5 separate regions of the Homo sapiens genome follow, and all the other regions are linked to region 1. The links are contacts of gene promoters, found by promoter capture Hi-C in blood cells and fetal thymus (Javierre and others, 2016). All regions are on one chromosome and are shown on one strand. The core of a region is centred on a gene start or on the middle of the fragment in contact, and the rest is flanking DNA. Distances in the headings are between cores, read along the strand shown.

Region 1 (3,607 bases), core at 677-3,176:
GCAAATGCTGGGAGAGTCAGTGGTGAGCGCCCACACTCTGTCCTTGCTCTTGTGCTGTTTTTACAAAGGAGGGGACAGACAATAACCCAGGAAACAAATAATGACAAGATATGCAGTTTGATGAAGGACGTGGATAGGGTGCTGAGATAGAGAAGTATCAACTCTAGAGAAAGTGATCTTTAAGCTGAGACTTGAGCTGGAGGCATGCCTGTAGTCCCAACTCCTCAGGAGGCTGGGGTGGGAAGATCGTTTGAGCCCAGGAGTTCTGGGCTGTAGTGTGCAATGCCAATCAGGTGTCCACACTAAGTTTGGCATCAACTATGATGACCTCCTGGGGCTGGAGGACCACCAGGTTGCCAGGTGGCAAACAGCAGGTCAAAACTCCTGTTCGGATCAGTAGTGGGATCATGCCTGTGAATAGCCACTGCACTCCAGCCTGGGCAATATAGAGACACCCTATTTCTAAAAAAATACTACTAATAAAGAAAAAGGTGAAATTTGAATAGGAAAAAGGAGACACCCTTGGGAAGGTGGGGTGGAGGGGTTGGGGGTGGCTCCTAGTTAAGCTTGGAGGATAGAAGGAACCAAAAGACGGATGCACGGTGGTCTCAGGGAGGGAGGAATGAGCAGAGAAAGGCCCTAGGCCTGGAAATAATCATATTGAACACATGCTATCCTAATAGTGAACACCATCCTAAGTGTTTCACATGGTTTACCTTGTTTAATTCTCCTTGCAGCCCTGTGAAGTGAGCGTTATTACTGGTTTTATGCTGTAGAATCTGTGACACAGAGAGGTTGAGTAATTGCCCTAAGGTCACACAGCTTCTAAGTAGCAGTGCTGGATAGATCTGACTCCACAGACTGTGCTCTTAGCTGTGTCAAGCAGGAAGGCCCAGGGTTTCATCCAGAAAACAGAATGTGAAAAGGGACTGGAATGAAAGCAACCTGTACTGGGTGCAGAGGTGCTGTCGATAAAGGATGAGGGATGGGAAAGGAAGACAGAAGAAAGGCCTAGAAGATCAAAGGAGAAGGGTGTTCAAGGCTGCAGGCAGCACTGGAAGCCAGGCCAGCTCAGTTGACCACCTACTCTGGGCACATCCCCAACCCAGCCTGTCCCTTCAGGTCGGATTTGCAATTCTCCTGCTCTCCCTCCTCCTAAACACAAACAGGAGATTTACACTCTCAAAGTCTCTCCCCACAAATGACTTATTAATCACAAAGGGAAAAATTGTAACTTTGCAGTGGCACAACCTGGTCAATGCCAGCTTAACCAAGTGACCAAAGTGGATATTCAGGGAAGGCTCTGGAAGGGCATTTGGGGGAAGTGTAGAAAGGTTTTGTGAGGAGCACTCTGAATGACGGGGGTAGGAAGCCTTGGGGACTGAGGAGTCTACCCTAACAGGGCAGGGTCCAGAGGGGGAAGGAGGGGTATGTCTCGGGGGAAGGGAGAAGTATTGAGGTGGGGGAGGTTCTGAGGTTTGAGTGAGGCCCTGGGGAGGGACTTGACAGTTTGGGTGACAGGAGGGTCAGAATAGGGTCAGTATGGGATGTGTTGGGTGGGTAAAAGCTGGGTGAGTGCAGGGCTGGGGATAGGGTCTCCAAGGACAGTGAAAGGGTCGGGAGTCGCGGGCGAGGGCTCTAGGGCAACGGCCAGTGGAAGGGGGGGCTCCTGTGGCGTGAAGTCAAGCCAGCCCGAGGGTGAGGCGATTTGGACAGTCCGACCTGTGGCGGCGGGAGGGCGAGGGTGGCGGAGGGCGCGAGGTAGGCGGCGGGGCGTGCCGGGGCGGGGCCGGGGCGGGGCCGGCACCGCCCGGCGGGTCCCCCCGCGCTCCAGGGGGCGCTGTGAGCCTGGGCGGCCCCAGGCCGGGCGGCGGCCGCTCCCAGTGAGCGCGGCCCCTTTTCCGGGTTTCCTCCGCCTCCTCCTCCTCTCCTCCTTCTTCTCCGCTGCCGCCGCCGCTGCCCCTTTCCCGGCCGGTGGCTGCCGCTGCCGGTGCCGCCGCCGCCGCCTCCTGGGGGCCGCGAGCCGAGCGGAGACCGCCGCGGAGCGCGAGCGCCGCCCGCCCCGCCGCCCCGCCGGCCGCTCCAGGGCCGGGCCGGCTCGGCCGGCGCCCCCCGCGCCCCCAGCCCGCCCGCCCCCGCGGGCCCGGCCTGGCGCGGCCGCCCGCCGCCGCGCTCCTCCTCCTCCTCCTCCAGCGCCCGGCGGCCCGCTGCCTCCTCCGCCCGACGCCCCGCGTCCCCCGCCGCGCCGCCGCCGCCACCCTCTGCGCCCCGCGCCGCCCCCCGGTCCCGCCCGCCATGCCCGGCCCGGCCGCGGGCAGCAGGGCCCGGGTCTACGCCGAGGTGAACAGTCTGAGGAGCCGCGAGTACTGGGACTACGAGGCTCACGTCCCGAGCTGGGGGTAAAGCCGTCGCCGCCCCCCGCCGGGCCCGCTGATCCCTGCCCCCGCCCGGCCACCCCCTGCGAACCGCACTCGGGCCCGGTGGTGTCTCCCGCCGACCCCTCCGCGGGCCCGCAGGGAGGCAGAGGTCCCGCTCTCGCACATGTCCTCGTCTTCCTCTTCCCTCCCCTTTACCCCCGTTTCGTCCCTTTCTCCCCGCTTTGCGCACCCCTTTCCCCCAAGGAATGCTTTTTTACTCGGGGAGAAGTGTGGGGTCCAGGGATCGACGCCGGGTGGAAGTGAGGGAGCTGCCCTTCCTCACACTTCTGGGTTTCCACTGGGGTGGGAAGTCAACAGCTGTCCTTTGGAGCTATTAAAATGCCCTGCCTTTTAGGTTTTCTGAGATGAGGTGGTGGGAGGAAATTTCTTAAAGACGTCCAGATTTTTAAAACAGGCATTGTCTACCTTGAAGATGTGAAACGAGAAGCAGGTGCTGGGGAGCCGCGGGGCACAGGGGGCACCCTCTAGGCCTTCAGGACGGGTGCTTTGCTCGCCCCTCTGGATTGGCTCAGAGCGTTGCCTTCCTGCCCCATCTTCCCAAGTTAGGAGAGACCAATTAGGTTAGGAGCTCTGCAGAGTGAAGGGAGCCAAGATTATGTCGTGGCTTTCATTTAGGGAATGAGTTGTGACGTGATGTATAGACACTTCCAAGTGTTTGCCTGGTGGAAGCGGCTGAATGACGTGTACAGTGGGCATAGGCTTGGTTAACCCCCAGTCCTGGCATTTATGTGTGTGTCTTCCTTTTACAGTAATCAAGATGATTACCAACTGGTTCGAAAACTTGGTCGGGGAAAATATAGTGAAGTATTTGAGGCCATTAATATCACCAACAATGAGAGAGTGGTTGTAAAAATCCTGAAGGTGAGTGTCCTATGAGTGGTATGTAACATTTTCCTCCCCACAGGGCAAAAGTTTGTAAGGTACCCCAGTCACATTCTATAATGGGCAATGCAAGCTTGAATTTAATTTAATTTATTTGTTTAGAGTCAGAGTCTCACTCTGTCACCCAGGCTGGAGTGCAGATCATAGTTCACTGCAGCCTTCAACTCCTGGGCTCCAGTGATCCATCTCAGCCTCCCAAGTAGCTGGGACTACAGGTGCATGCCACCACGCCCAGCTATTTTTAAAATTTTTTTGTAGAGTCAGGGTCTGGTCATGTTGCCCAGGCT
Region 2 (3,607 bases), core at 340-2,839, 490 kb before region 1:
GCCTGGGCAACAGAGACCGTGTCTCTAAAAATAATAATAATAATAAAATAAATAAAAATAAGAGAGAGTTTACTTTCCCTCTCTGCTTTCCGCAATGTGAGGACACAGCAGGAAGATGGCCATCTGAAAACTATGAAGATGGTCCTCCCCAGAACTTGACTCTGCTGGCATTCTGACCTCAGTCTTGACAGCTTCCAGGACGGTGAAAAATAAATCTCTGTCGTTTAAACCACCCAGTCTATGATACTCTGTTATAGCGGCCTTAACTGATTAAGACAGTATGATTCTATTTTTTTTTTTTTTTTTGAGACAGAGTCTCACTCTGTCTCCCAGGCTGGAGTGCAGTGGCACGATCTCTGCTCACCGCCACCTCCGCCCCCCGGGTTCAAGTGATTCTCCTGCCTCAGGCTCCCGAGTAGCTGGGACTACTGGCGTGCACCACCATGCCCAGCTAATTTTTGTATTTTTAATAGAGACAGGACTTCGCCATGTTGGCCAGGCTGGTCTCGAACTCCTGACCTCAAGTGATCAGCCCGCCTTGGCCTCCCAAAGTGCTGGGATTACAGGTGTGAGCCACCGCACTCAACCAGTATGATTCAATTTATATAAACTTTTTGGAGGCCAGGCACGGTGGCTCATGCCTGTAATCCCAGCACTTTGGGAGGCTGAGGTGGGTGGATCACTTGAGGTCAGGAGTTTGAGACCAACCTGGCCAACATGGCGAAACCCCATCTCTACTAAAAATACAAAAATTAGCTGGGAGTGGTGGTGCATGCCTGTAATCCCAGGTACTCGGGAGGCTGAGGCAGGAGAATCACATGAACCCGGGAGGCAGAGGTTGCAGTGAGCAAAGATCGTGCCACTGCACCCCAGCCGGGGAGACAGAGTGAGACTCTGTCTCAAAAAAAAAAAAAAAAAAAAAAAAAAAAAAGGTGTGATTTGGGTTTCTAAGGATTCCCAGTGTGTCCTCATCGGTGAGGACCTCTGATGCATGGAGAGGTAAGTGCAGTGGAGAGCATATCCACAAAACAGAGATGAGGCTATTGGGATGCTGGAGATTACGTGACAATTTATGAGTGACACACAGCCAAGAACAGAACCAGGACTGGATGCCCATTTCGTCATTCAACAAATATTTACTGAGCACCTACAATCCCTCAAAAACTGTTCTAGAGTCTAAACCGATGGGGTCGTAACCATGCCCCCAGCCCACTCCCTTGCAGGAAAGACCGTGGCTCCAGGTCCCCCACATTACTGATTAAAAAAAAACTCCAGTGCTCTGGCCATGGGCGTGAAGGCAAGGACAGAGACCGGGAGGATAATGAGGCCAAACAGCTTTGGCCCACCGCCACCGGGACTGGCAAAGAGGCCAGACCTCCTAATGCTCTTCCTTGGAGGAAGGAGCAGTGTTTGATTTGGTCAAGAGGCCAAGACTAAAAGTAAGAGGATAAACACGAGCTGGCTGGACGCGAGGCTGGCTCAGGGCAGTGCTGTCGGGCTGAGGATTCAGGGAGCTGGTGTTGTCCAAGCTTCACATTTGCGGAAACTACAACTCCCAGCGTGTCCCGCGGCCGCCCGAGCGGGCGTCATGTGATGCATGCTCACGTGTCTCCGCAGCCGGCTCGGGAAAGAATCCCCCAAGGTAGGTGGCCGGAGACAGGCTCTGGAGGGTGGAAGTGTTAGATCCCCGAGGTCTGTGGAGCCCCTCAGTCCCCGCCACCGCGGAAAAGCTCAGACCCTTTCCCTGCAGGGGTCCAGATCCTGGCGTCCTCGCCCCACGCCCGTCCCTCTGTTGCGCCAGCTCTGCCGCGCCTTTACCCAGCCAGAGGGTCTCCACCCAGTCCTAGGCCGGGATCGGGTCCCGGAGCTCCTCCCCAGGTTACCCCACAGTAGCCCACCCTTCTCGCTCCAGGCCTGGGAATCGCCCCGCCCCGGCCTCCTGGCCCGGGTGCGCCCTGGCTCACCTCACAAAGCCTCACCTCACAAAGCAGCCCACCCTTTCTATCTCAGGGCTCCAACCCCAGGCTGGACTGGGAGCACACTCCAGTTGGGATCTGAGGGGCCTACATCGCTGGCCTGAGCATGTGGGCATCAGGCTTCTATTCTGGCTCTGCCAGCTACCCACTGTGACCTTAGTCTAACCTCTCCCTCCTGGGCCTGTTTTCCTATCTGTCCTGAAGCTCCATTTCATGAGTAAGCGTGAGAGCCGCTCAGTTTCCTCCAGCTCTGCTGAAGCCAGCACAGAAGTAGCCCAAACTCTTCCCTCTGCTGACAGCAAATTTTAGGCAAAGTCTTGAGAAAGAAGAAATTGGGTCCAGAAAGGGAAGTGAGGAGAATCAGATCCCAGACCTTTGGGGAGAAGGAGCAACCGCCTCTGGCACAGCCCATCAGGGAGAAAGAGCAGGTAAGGTGCAACAATGAGCTGAGTAATTTGCCAGTGAGCAGTGGGGGTGCCGAGAGGTCTTAACCAAGGCAGAGAATCTGCAAGAGGTGGGACCCCCAGCTTCTGAGTTCCACGAGGACCCCAGCCTGCACTCTCATGTGGGTGGCAGGAGAGGCTGGAGGATGGTGCAGGACTCGGGCAGGGGTGCCCAAGGGAAACATTTTGGTTGGAGAGTCAGGAAGCCGCACCAAGCCTTGTGACCTTGGACGAATCACTCTGTAGACCTCTGTCTCTGTGACGTGAGCAGCGGGGAGGAGATGGTCACAGCTCTGGCAGTGGTCACTTTGCAGGGTTCTTTCTCTAGCTACACTGGAAGCCTGGGAGTCCCAAGACTCTGCCTTCGCTGCTCACTGCTTTGATTTTGCTGAGTTGCTGGTTGGGTGACAGGATGTGTAAGAGGATGTGTAAGCCCTGTGACATCTGACAGATCTTTCTGGGTTTCGAGCCAGCAGAGGAATGTTTCCTCTGGTGCCATGTCCCTTGGTTCCATGCTTGATAACAGATGGCTGAGAGCACATGAACTTTCACCCTTTCCCTCTCATGAGTGGATGGTCCCCAGCTTTGTTTGTCCATCATCAGGAGGAGCAATGGGAAGTAGTCCAAGGGGTCTTGTTAGTCATTTTAAACCCCCAGTGGGCTGAAGGCATCAGAGAGGGTGGCCCAATGGTTAGGGCAGTCATTATGGCTGAATATGCTCAGTTCCCTTTTTTTCCCTCTGGGCTATAAAGACTAAACCAGGCTGGGGGCTGTGGCTCACGCCTGTAATCCCAGCACTTTGGGAGGCCGAGGCAGCAGGATTGCTTGAGCCCAGGAGTTCAAGACCAGCCTGGGCAACATAGTGAGACCTCCTCATCTCTACAGAAAATTTAAACATGACAGGCGTGGGGGGCTTGTCACGTGGGAGAAGTCACATGGGAGAAGAGTTGAGAATTGGCCTGAATTTTGAAAGGCCAATTTTGTTCCCCACAGGAACAAAAAATTTAAAAAGTTGGCCAGGCGTGGTGGCTCACGCCTGTAATCCTAGCACTTTGGGAGGCCAAGGGGGATCACAAGGTCAGGAGTTCAAGACCAGCCTGGCCAACATGGCAAAACCCCATCTCTACTAAAAATACAAAAATTAGCCAGGCATGGTGGCGGGCACCTGTAATCCCAGCTACTCAGGAG
Region 3 (3,607 bases), core at 492-2,991, 460 kb after region 1:
CTGTCTTTCCTACCTTTAGACTTCACGATTTTCTTCCTGTTTCTGCATATCACCTGGTAATATTGACTAGTTATACGCAATTTTTAAAATTGACTTGCTATTTTTATTAGCTTGGGCTTAAGCAATGTCCATGAAATTACAAGTTTGATATACTCATGATACTCTTTCTATGATACAAAAAGAAAAACAATTATTGAAATAAAAAAAATTGACCCATGCACTGCCTACACACCTCTCAGCTGCTGCTTGTGTGTACATACAAACCCTGCTTTGGAGAACACACTTTAAGAACAACCGAAGTCACCTCTAGACAAGCTGCCCCCAGGTAAGCCTGCACAGGGCTTCGGCTCAGATTCACAATCACGGATCAGGTTCTGGTCTGAGGTCTGTGATCTGCTATTGCGTGGCCTTGGCTACTAGGTCACTTGTCCTCTGAGGGCCTGGCTCCTCGTCTGGAAAGTGGGGATGCCCGTGGTGTCTGCTCACACCTGATGCTGAGGACTCCCTCAGAGCGCGCCTACGTGCTGCTTAGTAGCAGGCGAGGGCTCCGTGACATTGGGCAGGCTCGGGGCTAGTCACCATGAGAGAGTGGGCATGGGGGCCTGGGCGGGCACCAGAGGGTGGGCTTCATGAGGAGGGGGCAGGAGGCAACAGACTGAGCAGCTGGGGTGGGGGTGAGGGCTGACCACACAGAGGAGGAGCCTGTGCAGACAGCCCAAGGCCCTGGCCTGGTCCGTGGAGATGGCAGACAGGAGCCTCGGAGGACTCCGCAGGGAGCAAAGCACAGGCAGGGAACCAAGAGGCGGCCCGGGCCTCAGAACCCATCCCTGCATGAGCTCCTCCTGGAAAGAAGGGAGAAAAAAGACAGTTCTCCCCACACAGGCCAGGGGAAAACCCCAAGGTGCTGACGCCCCGAGGCACCCGGAAGGCCAGCGTGGGTGACGCCAAGGAAAAGGGTGTTGGAGCCACGGCGCTCCACAGAGGCCCCTCCTGCACCCCAGCTCCGACTCCACCCTGCCTGGGTGTCTCTGCTGCGGGCTTCAGACCACAAGGAGGTTGGGAAACTGGGCCCAGGGAAGCTGCTTGCCAGAAACCTGGGCTCCAAGGGGCCACCAGGAATACCCAGGGGACAAGTCGCAGGCTGAATCTCACTGATGACACCCTGCCTCCTGGGCCGGTCGGGGCAGAGCCAGCACAGGCAGCAGCGCCAGCAAGGGCGAGGGTTCCCTGTGGGCCCAAACCTGGGCCAGGGCGCTGGGAGTTCGCCATGGGGATCCCAGGGAGCTGGGCCCCACTTTAGTCCCGTCTCGATGAGAGCCTTCTGTCCTCTGGACACTGTCGGGACAGAAACCTGAGGAATTCCAGCCACAGACGTGTCTGTTCAAGGTTTCCACCTGACCCAGAAAGAGGGCAAAGCACCTTCTCCCTGGCATTCCGTGCCCGAGCCTGGTGTCCTCTCCGTGGAGGCACTGCTCGCTCCCCCTGGCCTACCTGGAGGGCTCTGTCTGTCCCCTGGCCCTCACTCCTCCCAGGGAAAGTGTCTGGCTGGGCCCCACCTCACTGGGCCTCAGGACTGCTGCCCCTGGAGTCAGGGGCATTCATTCATAATATCAGTATTTCCTGGGTGCCTGTTCTAGGCCTTGCACGAAATATGCCCCAGTATAATCAGATGGTGGTGGGGGCGGGACACTGAGCTGGCAAAACCGCAGACTTTGGAGTGAGAAAGATTTAGAAGTTGGGCCCTTCTGGAGGAGCCCACATCACTCCCCTCTAAGCAGCCTGACCAGGGACTGACTGGAGCCCACAGAGGGAGGGCAGAGGGGCAGGGACACAGCACAGGCACCTGCAAAGGAGGCACGGGGCACCACCCCAAGAGCTCCTCCTTCATCCTGGCTTGTTGGACAGCAACCAACAGCCCAGGCCGAATACTTGATTTTCATACCAAAAATAAAAAATAAAAATCCTCAGTGTCTACTGGCAGGCCAAGCTCTGGGAGTACAACCTGGGCCCCACATCCAGCCAAAGCTGGGGAACATGGTGCGGCGTGGCCAGAGGGGCTGAGGATCAGCATCCCAAATGCAAGATACAAAGTACTAGGTTTCAACGACCTCATGTGGGCCACGCACCTCTGATCCTCACCAGACCCTGGAGCCACAAGGAGCCAGAGGTCACGTGGCCCTGGGCTCTTCAGAGTTGATTCCCACGGACACCACCGTGCACATGAAATCAGCAGCAGCAGCAGATGCCCAATACGCCTGATCTCATTACCTCCTGCTCGCACACACTGATGGCTTGGCCTTGCCTTTATGATAAAGCACGGCAGCCTCAGGAGGGCTGGGGTCCTGAGAACTCAGTAGGTCCGTGCGGCCCCACATTCCTCCTGCTGCTGTGCCACTGCCCATGGCCTCCCTTGAGTCCTTCCAATACACTGAGCCTCCTGCCTCAGGGCCTTTGCACTTGCTGTTCATGCAGCCTGCAGCATTCCCACCCCACCCCTACCCCTACCCCCCAGCTAACTGATTCAAAGCACAGGCACCAGCTTGCAACTAGAGGAGACACAGAGGGATACGGTTATCCAGTTCCTGCCTGTTGCTCTCCCCAGGCTCTGAGCTCCCGCTGTACAGAGACCTTGACTACTTTGTCCCCCAGTGGCTCCCCAGTGCCTAGCTCTGGGGAAAGGCCAGCTGTCGAAGGGATGAATACGTAATCCCAATAATTACAAAGCCACTCTGACCAAAGTGTGCCTTCCTTGGGGAACCATAACAGGGTTCTCCCAGAGCCCTAGAGTTTTGGGGAACAACATGAAAATGGCCCAAACCTCTCACTTTACAAACAAGGAAACAGAGGCCCTGCAAAGAGCTTTGCCCAGAGTCTTATGGTTAAATTCATGGTTAAAAAGTGTGGAGTCTTGGCCAGGCATGGTGGCTCATGCCTGTCATCCCAGCACTTTGGGAGGCTGAGGCACGTGGATCACCTGAGGTCAGGGGTTCGAGACGAGTCTGGCCAACATGGTGAAACCCCGTCTCTACTAAAAATACAAAAATTAGCCGGGTGTGGTGGCGGGTGCCTGTGATCCCAGCTACTCGGGAGGCTGAGGCACGAGAATCGCATGAACCCGGGAAGCAGAGGTTGCAGTGAGCTGAGATTGCACCACTGTACTCCAGCCTGGGTGACAGTGAGACTCTGTCTCAAAAAAAAAAAAAAGTGTGGAGTCTTGTCCCAGCTCCTGAAAACCAGCCCAGGGACAGCTGGCAGCAGACAGTGACCAGGTGGAGCACACAAAAGCTATGCCAACCAGTTACAATAGGTGGGGCAGGGCCCACCAAGGTGCCAATGTGTAGGGGAATTCTCAAAATATGATCTGGGGATGCTTGGGATCCTCAAGATCCTTTCGGGGGGTCTGAGAAGACAAAAGGATTTTCACAATAACACTAAGATGGCATCTGCCTTTTGCACTCTCATTTGCTCTCAAGCATATGGTGGAGTTTCCCAGAACATCACTAGAGGCCTATTTGATTATATACTCTTGTTTGAAAATGTCTCAGTATTAACTTCTAACGTGGTAAATACTGACAGATATATAACTCCAACAAACAAAAGCACTCTG
Region 4 (3,607 bases), core at 747-3,246, 440 kb after region 1:
GCTGGGGCTGCAGAGTCTCTAGGTGAGTGTGGGGCCTGTGGCCCAGGGCTGCCCGCCTGCCTGCCCGCAGTGGGTTGCAGGGCTGCGCTGGGACGTTCTGCTGTTCAGAGCTGGGTCTAGCCCCTGCTGTCGCTTGTCTATGTGCTTTTGCTGGGTTCCCTCCTGCTCTCGGTGGCAACTGCTGTGGGCTGCCGGTGGGCAAGTGGACAAGAGGCTGATGATCTCATGCCCCTGCAGGGAAGTCGCGGCCACTGCCTGTGTGACGGATGTGACCCCGCTGGGCCTGAAGCTGGGCCCTCACTGGCCTGTCCCTGCTGCAGCGCCAGGACCCCCGGAGGTAGAGGCGAGAGTGGAGGCTCTTCTTCTGCCCCGTCTCCCCTCAAAGATGAGAAACATGTTCAGAAGGAAACGGTGTCTCTCGGCTGTGGCTCTGAGTGCAAATTGCATGGGCGGAAAGGCGGGGGTGGCTGCTCTTCCTGGCAGGCCTGGGCCATCAGCGAACTGGGCCCCGTGAGGAGGGCGGGAGTGTGGAGGAGGGTGGGCCTCTCACCCAGGCTTTCTCGGCCCCTCTCCTCAGCTTGCAGAGCTGGCCAGCCCCCTCCTTAGGGGGTGGGCGAGGAGCCTCTGGGCAGACCCAAGAACCATGGGGACTGGGGTGGGTTGGTGGCACCAATGGCAGCCCTCCCCGCCCCTCTCCTTCAAGGAGGGTTCCCGCAGCTGGGGGGTGTGCGGAGGCGCATGGCCTCCCGCCACGGGGCCGTGCTGTGTTTATGGCTGGCAGAGGCAGCCAGCGGGTGGGGGATTCTGCTGCTCGCTCACCTGCCTGGCTCGCTGGTCTCTCGAATTTTCTTCCCTCTGAAATCCTATTTAAGAACTTTTGGAAGCTTAGCCATTTTTACTTATTAAAATAAAAGAAGCCTTTTTACACAAGTATGGTCTGAAAAAGTTGGTCTGTGAGCCCCTCTTGGTCTGATTAGGGGGACGGGGCACTGGCAGGTCTTGTGGACTCCCCCGCTGGCTGGTCACCCCACAGCCCTCTGGGATCTGTCCTCTAGGTCAGTTAGGGACATGCGTCCTTAACAAACAACTGGGGGGAGCCTGCGCTGTCCCACCCTGGGTCACTTTCTCTGTTGTTTGTGGTCACAGTCGCCTCATGCGGTACCTACCATGTGCCCACGATAACTGACCTCCCAACAGGGGCATTCCTCCATGTTACTGATGGGAAGGAAACTAAGGCTGGAGAGAGCTTCAAAGGCTATCAAAGCCTTGCCCAAACCATGCTGGGCTTCCAGGTTACTGCTGGGCACCACCCACTGCCCACTCTTTGCCCTGGCCTTTTCCCTCTTCAGTGAACTGGCCAGAGGTCCACGCCACCTTCCTCCAGTGCCGAGGACCCTGACCACCCCGGGGCGGGGCTGTACCTGGTCCCTGCCTTGGGAGCAGGAGGGGGCCCACCTGTCGCAGTGCCCACGGAGCAGGGAGCCCTTTCCCGCCAGCCAGTGCTGGGGACTCCAGCAGGGAGTGACAGCTGATCGGAGCCCTGCTCAGAGGAAGGGGCAGGTGCCCTTCTAGTCCTGCCCCTGGAGGCATCCTGGGGGTGTCCATAAGACAGCTTGAGTGTAGCTGAGGTGGGGAGGAACGGGCTGGTGGGGGCCACCCCTAACCTCAACACCCAGTGGTGGAAGGGTGGTTGCCGCCTCCCCTTCCTTCCCAGTCTGCACTGGCTGAACTGGTGCTGTCCCAGAGGCCTGATTCTCTGCTGCCCCCTGCTGGCCACATGGCCCAGAGCCCCACCCCCGGGCTTGGAGGGGGTGTGGCCTCATCTCAAACCATGGGGCAGGCACTCCTGGGCCCGGGGAGCCCTGTGGCCAGCAGAAAACATTCCCCACAAGGAAACCTGGGAATAGTTACAAATTTAATAAAATTTGCCTTATAAATTACAGCAGCAGCCCCAGGGCTCAGTTCGCTGCCCCAAGAAGCAACAGTTGGGCAAAGCTGGGCAGCTATTGCTGGAGAGAGTTGTCTCAAGAGTTCAGGGCTGTAGAGGTGGCCAGGGACCAGCATCACCTCCTCCAGGACGGCCACAGGACAGCAGCAGGGGCCAGGCAGAGGCTCATGGGCCAGTGGGTGCACAAGGAACAGGAGTGGGGGCTGAGGCCAGGCCCTGTGGGCTGCCGAGCGCCCCTGCCCACTGCTTTCCTCAGTCCAGACTGGCCATGAGCAGGTGCAGCTCGCGGAAGGTACTGCCATGGCGGCCGCTCAGGCCTGACTTGCTCTTGACCAGGCCGCTGATGCTCTTAAGCTGCTTGTAGCAGAGCCGGCACTTATGCAGCCTGTAGAGAGGGCAGTGCCTGAGGGGCTAGCTGGCACCACCACCACCCACACCCAACCCCAGGGCCTTTGCTGTCCTAACTGCTCCAGCCCTTCCTCCCAAGGGAAGGCGGAGGCCCAGAGGGGAACCACCCAGGCCCTGCCAGGGATTGTGGGCACAGCCAGGCCATGGAGGAACCCAGCTCTGGCTAAGCCCACCCACACCCTGAGCCATGGCCCCAGACCAACGCCTCCTCTGTACTCTGTCCCAGCAGGACTGTCAGTAAGAGGGGCCCAGGCCTCCAGGCCTTTGTCCCCTCACCTGTTGTGGCACCCCTGCCCCCAACACATGCGCTGCCCTCACCTCTCCTCCCTGCTGATATCCACACCCACAGAGGGTGGGGCCGCCAGCATGTCTGTGATGAGGGGCAGAAACCGCTGCAGGATCAGCTTCAGGGAGGTGCAGCCCGTCTGGACGTAGCTTTAGGGGGAGATGGATGAAGTCACAGATGGACCAAGGGCCACAGACAGAAAGAGAAACAGCAAGGAACAAAGGAGGAGAGGGGCAGAAACAGACACAGACACACCCACACATACACCCACACACGCCTGTTTCCACTCCCACCTCCGGACTGTTGAGGGGCAGCAATGCTTCACAGCCAGCTCACAGGAACACCCAGGCTCTTGGGGGTCCTTCCCATGGTTCTGGAGGAGGCTTCTTACCTCTCCCCTCCCCCTGCTTCAGGCAGGCATGGCTTCCCCACACGCACCTCTCATACTTGCTCTGCAGAAGCTTCTCAATCTGTGGCAGGACGGTGGTGCACAGGTCCAGCTTCCACAGGGAGCTAGGAGAGGCCAGGACATGCTGCCATCAGCCCAGCCCTGCCCCTCCGCCCACTCCCCCTCTGCAGCCACTTACGCTTTCTGGTTGACGATGTTCAGGAGGTCCACCACCACCGACAGGTCGTTGATGGCCACAGCGGAGTCCACCGACGTCTGTGCAAACAGAGCACCGTCAGGGGTGGGGCAGTGGGGGACAGTGTGGCCCTGTGAGGGTGAGGGTGGGGGTACGAACGTGAATGTGGGTGTGCTGATGGGGCTGTGGGTATTCAGCACTGCACCTAACGCAATGAGTGTAAGGCCAGGCATGTAAACAGATGCTCACTAAACGGCAGTCTGTGATGATGATGATGATGGCGGAAACAGATGGTGTGACGTCAGGGATGGCCTATCCCACACTGTCCCCCATGGGTGGCCTCTTCTTGTTCTGCCCCAAGCCCGGGCAGGCAGGTGGCAG
Region 5 (3,607 bases), core at 726-3,225, 320 kb before region 1:
GGGGGGGAAAAAATGGAACTTTCGCAGATCAAAGTGGGAAAGGAAAATGGAGGCAAGGATTAAGAAATAACCATACTTACTAATTTCTGATCCTATAAATGTGCCATCTTTTCAGGCTACTTTTTATATAGAATAGAGCTGGTATAAACACAGCTTTATATCAGTTCTAGGATCGTCTTAGACCTTTGGCCTGTGAATGTCCTCATCCCTCCAAAACACGGAGACTATCACTGTTCCAGGCTGCTATCCACAGAGCCACACACAGTCTGGGCTCACTGATGTGATCAGCCAGAAAGGAATGAAACATGGCTATGCAGACCACTCAATGTCTAGCACTAAATAAATGATGGTAGTATAGTTTATCAGAGGATTAACCACAACTTACTTTGAGGACTTTAAAATGTTTCGCATTCAAATGATTCTACAGTAATATGCATACTAAAAGGACATACAGGAGGAGCTGATTTCACCTACTCATTTTGTAGCACTAGTAAGAGAATGGAGCCTAAGACACAATGGCTTGAATCATGCTCAATCAGTGCACCAAGAGAAACTCCACTCACCGCAGAGTATTCTAGATTGGCGTTGTGATTGGCTAAGTGGTTTAGTATGTCTGCAGCAGGCACCATCACGGGGGAGTTGGGCTCCTTTTCATCCTCTTCTTCCTCCAGTGGTTCCTGAAAGCTGCCATTGACAGAACCTGGCTAAGGCCCTGTCTTGGGTGAGGGACTGGGGGTGGATTTCACTGTTTTTCCACTTTTGTCCCTCTATAGAGTTGTAAAGAAAAGGGTTCCGTCCTCAGAGGCCCCACCCACTGACCTATAGGCCATCACAAGGGCCACCAGCTGGTGGTAGAGTTCTAGGGAGCGAACCCTGAGGCTGAAGAGATCGGGGTGGGCTTCCATGAAGGGCAGCACGATGGACTGGTACTCGCTGCGGATGTTGGCCAAATCCTTCTCCACGGCCTCAGGTACGCCTGTGCCCTGGAGCAGGCACCGGCGCTCCTCCTCTGGCCTGCAGGGACACCCACACCCAGGTTCCCTTCATTCCTTCACACACTTTACTGGGTAGGACTGGTGCAGGGGCGGGGAAACTTCTTGCAGCAGGCTACGGTGCAGGCGCTCCCCAACCCCTCCCAAGGCTCTCACCAGAACATCGGGTGCTCCAAGCGGCCCAGCTCGGGCCAGAGCGCAAAGTAGGGCCTCCAGCGTGAGGCCGGGGCCTGCAGCTCGTGGAGCAGCGCCAGCAGCAGTGGCACCCAGCCCGACTGGCTCTGCAGCGCAACTCGCTCTGAGGAAGACACAGGTGTGAGCGCCCCGGCGCGGCCTCGCGGGCCGGGCCCGCCCCGCCCCGCCCCGCCCCGCCCCAGGGCCCTAGCCCGCCGCCGTGCCCACCTCGCTCCAGCAGGCCGCCGATGGAGCAGGTGTGCTGCGACAGGAGCGCGGCCCGCGGCACCACGAACAACAGCTCTCCGGCCTGCACGCTCTCCCGGGCCACCATGCCGTAGCCGGCCACCGTGCCCTGCCGGCTGACCGCCACCTGAGCAGGAGGGCTGGTCAGGGCAGCCCGCGCCCCGCCGCGGGTCCTCCGCCCGCCGGCTCGCTCGCTCACCTTGGGACTCAGCTCCAGCCCCACCCGCCGGCACCAGCTCAGGAAGCAGGCCACAGGATCCAGGTCGCCGCCGTCCACGGGCCCCGCCACCTGAGATAAGTGCGCGCAGTGACCAGGTCCGACCCCCAGAGAGGCCGCTGGGAACTGCAGGAGACCGCGGCGCGAGCGCAGAACGGGCTTTGGGTGGAGGAGGGGACGAGCGGAGAGGGGCGCGGGACCCGCGGGAGGGAGCGGAGGGGGCGCAGGCGGACGGTTCTGCGAACGGAGAAGGGGTGAGGCGCGGAGGAAAAGGCTGGACCCCGCGCCCGCCACTCACCCGTGGACGCTTCGCCTGGGTCGCCATGGTCTAAGAGCGCGTTTCCTCGCGGGCCGGCGCACCGCGCGGTCACTTCCGGCGTCTCTGGCCCCGCCCCGGCGCCGGAACCACGTGGTGCCTGTTTTGTCGTCCACGCTGCAGACTGGCCGGAGTTACCGCGGGCTGGAATCGTTCCTCATGAAAACATCTTGAGTCCAGGATCTCCAATTGCACTCACGCGCTGCGAGTGCAGAAGGAGAGTCCCGTGCCGCTTGGCGCCTGGTTCTGAGCCAGGTACAGCCCTGGCCTTCGGTCTGTCCCCGAGGGCTGAGGCTTCTTGCGGTCTGGGTGCAAGAACAAAATACGGTTTCTGGATCGGAAGCCGAGGGTCTGGTGGCCGGCCGGTGGTGAGCGACGCAACTGGGCGGCGAGCGACCTCCTGATCTCGACCCCTTGTTGCCGATGGCCATGGAACCCTTTTACTGGTGGTATTCGTTCAGAGCAGTTTTCGTGTGTGTTTCAGAGTGGCGTGGCCTAGAGGGCTCCTGGATCTAGAATAGATCCTCTCTGCCCTTATTTGCCAGTACATCCTCGTTTTTAATCTGCTGCATAGCACGTGGTGGGTTTTATTAGCTGACATAGTAGGGACTCAATATCTACCTATTGGGTAAATAAATGAATAAAACAAATGGTGGTTAAACCTGGGGAAGTAGCATGCTGTTAAATGTAAGAAAATGAGGCTGTGAATATAGAGGTTACAGGAATGGGTTTTGAAGCCAAGCAACGCCGCAGCTCAACACTCAGTTTTTTTTTTTTTTCCTTTTTTTTTTTTTTTTTTTTGGCGCGTTGGGGAGACGGGAGTCTCGCCCAGGCTGGAGTGCAGTGGTGCGATCTCGGCTCACTGCAACCTCCACCTCCCGGGTTCAAGCAATTCCCCTGCCTCAGCCTCCCAAGTAGCTGGGACTACAGGCGTACGCTGCCATGCCCAGCTAATTTTTTGTGTTTATTTTTAGTAGAGTCGGGGTTTCACCGCGTTGCCCAGGCTGGTCTCGAACTCCTGAGCTCAGGCAATCCCCCCGCCTCGGCCTCCCAGAGTGCTAGGATTACAGGCGTGAGCCACCGCGCGCGGCCTGGTCTGTTACTCAGGCAAATCCTTTTTCCTGAACCTTAGTCTCCTCACCTGCGAAACTAAGATAATACCTACTCTGTAGAATTAATGTAAGGATTGGTATGTTGACTAAAGAAAAAATATTAAGCTTTTAAATAATTAAAATTAGTTTTATTTAGAAGCCTTATTGAGGACTATAGACTGAGGCCTGTAGCCCAGGAGTAATCTTGTGAGGCTCCTCTAACACGGTATTTTAGTTTAGGTTATACATAGGTGAAGATTTAGTATGTGTAAAATCATATCAAAGTTTAGGGATAAGTATATCTGGTTATAGATTGCAGAGTATAATCATTAACCCTGTCAGACATGATCGTATGTTTAGGAGAAGGCAAAGAGTAGGTCATTTATCTTTGAAGGAATGTAGTGACTCAGGCAAGAGATTTGGAGGGCAGGGGTGTTTTGTTTTGTCTTTAAGGCATTTTTTTCTGGAGAGCTGTATTTTGTTTTTTTGTTTTATTTTGAGGCAGAGTCTTGCTCTGTCATCCAGGCTGGAGTGCAGTGGCACGATCTCCACTCACTACCACCTCTGCCTC

What was found. Contacts are between HindIII fragments. The CHiCAGO score rates a contact against its expected background, and 5 or more counts as called.
Region 2: a contact is called between the fragment with the promoter of SLC38A7 here and the fragment with the promoter of CSNK2A2 in region 1, in 16 of 17 cell types (activated CD4 T cells, total B cells, naive B cells and 13 more). The highest score is 16.9, in activated CD4 T cells.
Region 3: a contact is called between a fragment that was not itself captured here and the fragment with the promoter of CSNK2A2 in region 1, in 4 of 17 cell types (activated CD4 T cells, naive CD8 T cells, fetal thymus and 1 more). The highest score is 6.2, in activated CD4 T cells.
Region 4: a fragment that was not itself captured here is called in contact with the fragment with the promoter of CSNK2A2 in region 1 in 3 of 17 cell types (activated CD4 T cells, naive CD4 T cells and fetal thymus); the score reaches 5.4 in activated CD4 T cells.
Region 5: the fragment with the promoter of SETD6 here is called in contact with the fragment with the promoter of CSNK2A2 in region 1 in 13 of 17 cell types (activated CD4 T cells, M0 macrophages, M1 macrophages and 10 more); the score reaches 8.4 in activated CD4 T cells.

Annotation. Positions count from the first base shown.
Region 1 is chr16:58,196,425-58,200,031 of GRCh38, reverse strand. It overlaps CSNK2A2 (casein kinase 2 alpha 2), which reads left to right and starts at 1,926. Exons shown (of 12, transcript NM_001896.4): 1 at 1,926-2,399; 2 at 3,188-3,299. The coding sequence starts at 2,296. It also overlaps the pseudogene RN7SL645P. RefSeq lists silencers at 1,573-1,702, 1,753-2,022, 2,423-2,492. The HindIII fragment of the contact is 2,827 bases long and covers 569-3,395 here.
Region 2 is chr16:58,682,752-58,686,358 of GRCh38, reverse strand. It overlaps SLC38A7 (solute carrier family 38 member 7), which reads left to right and starts at 1,589. Exons shown (of 12, transcript NM_018231.3): 1 at 1,589-1,642; 2 at 2,181-2,404. RefSeq lists enhancers at 1,803-1,862, 1,373-2,217. The HindIII fragment of the contact is 5,837 bases long and covers 1,532-3,607 here.
Region 3 is chr16:57,737,859-57,741,465 of GRCh38, reverse strand. The region is part of intron 2 of KATNB1 (katanin regulatory subunit B1); the gene reads right to left. Among named protein-coding and RNA genes, the nearest start is that of KATNB1, 3.9 kb to the right of the region's middle. The HindIII fragment of the contact is 6,249 bases long and covers 1-3,607 here.
Region 4 is chr16:57,755,540-57,759,146 of GRCh38, reverse strand. It overlaps KATNB1 (katanin regulatory subunit B1), which reads right to left. Exons shown (of 20, transcript NM_005886.3): 17 at 3,230-3,306; 18 at 3,081-3,155; 19 at 2,675-2,791; 20 at 1,903-2,333. The coding sequence ends at 2,201. It overlaps KIFC3 (kinesin family member C3), which reads left to right. Exons shown (of 20, transcript NM_001130100.2): 19 at 1-22; 20 at 238-930. Among named protein-coding and RNA genes, the nearest start is that of MIR6772, 15 kb to the left of the region's middle. RefSeq lists a silencer at 1,688-1,837 and enhancers at 1,636-1,930, 1,519-2,158. The HindIII fragment of the contact is 2,219 bases long and covers 887-3,105 here.
Region 5 is chr16:58,513,885-58,517,491 of GRCh38, reverse strand. SETD6 (SET domain containing 6, protein lysine methyltransferase) reads right to left here and starts at 1,975. Exons shown (of 8, transcript NM_001160305.4): 1 at 1,928-1,975; 2 at 1,395-1,701; 3 at 1,149-1,290; 4 at 820-1,014; 5 at 564-684. The coding sequence starts at 1,954. It also overlaps a transcript of NDRG4 not described here. RefSeq lists enhancers at 102-271, 921-1,090, 2,131-2,300 and a silencer at 1,351-2,010. The HindIII fragment of the contact is 14,988 bases long and covers 1-3,164 here.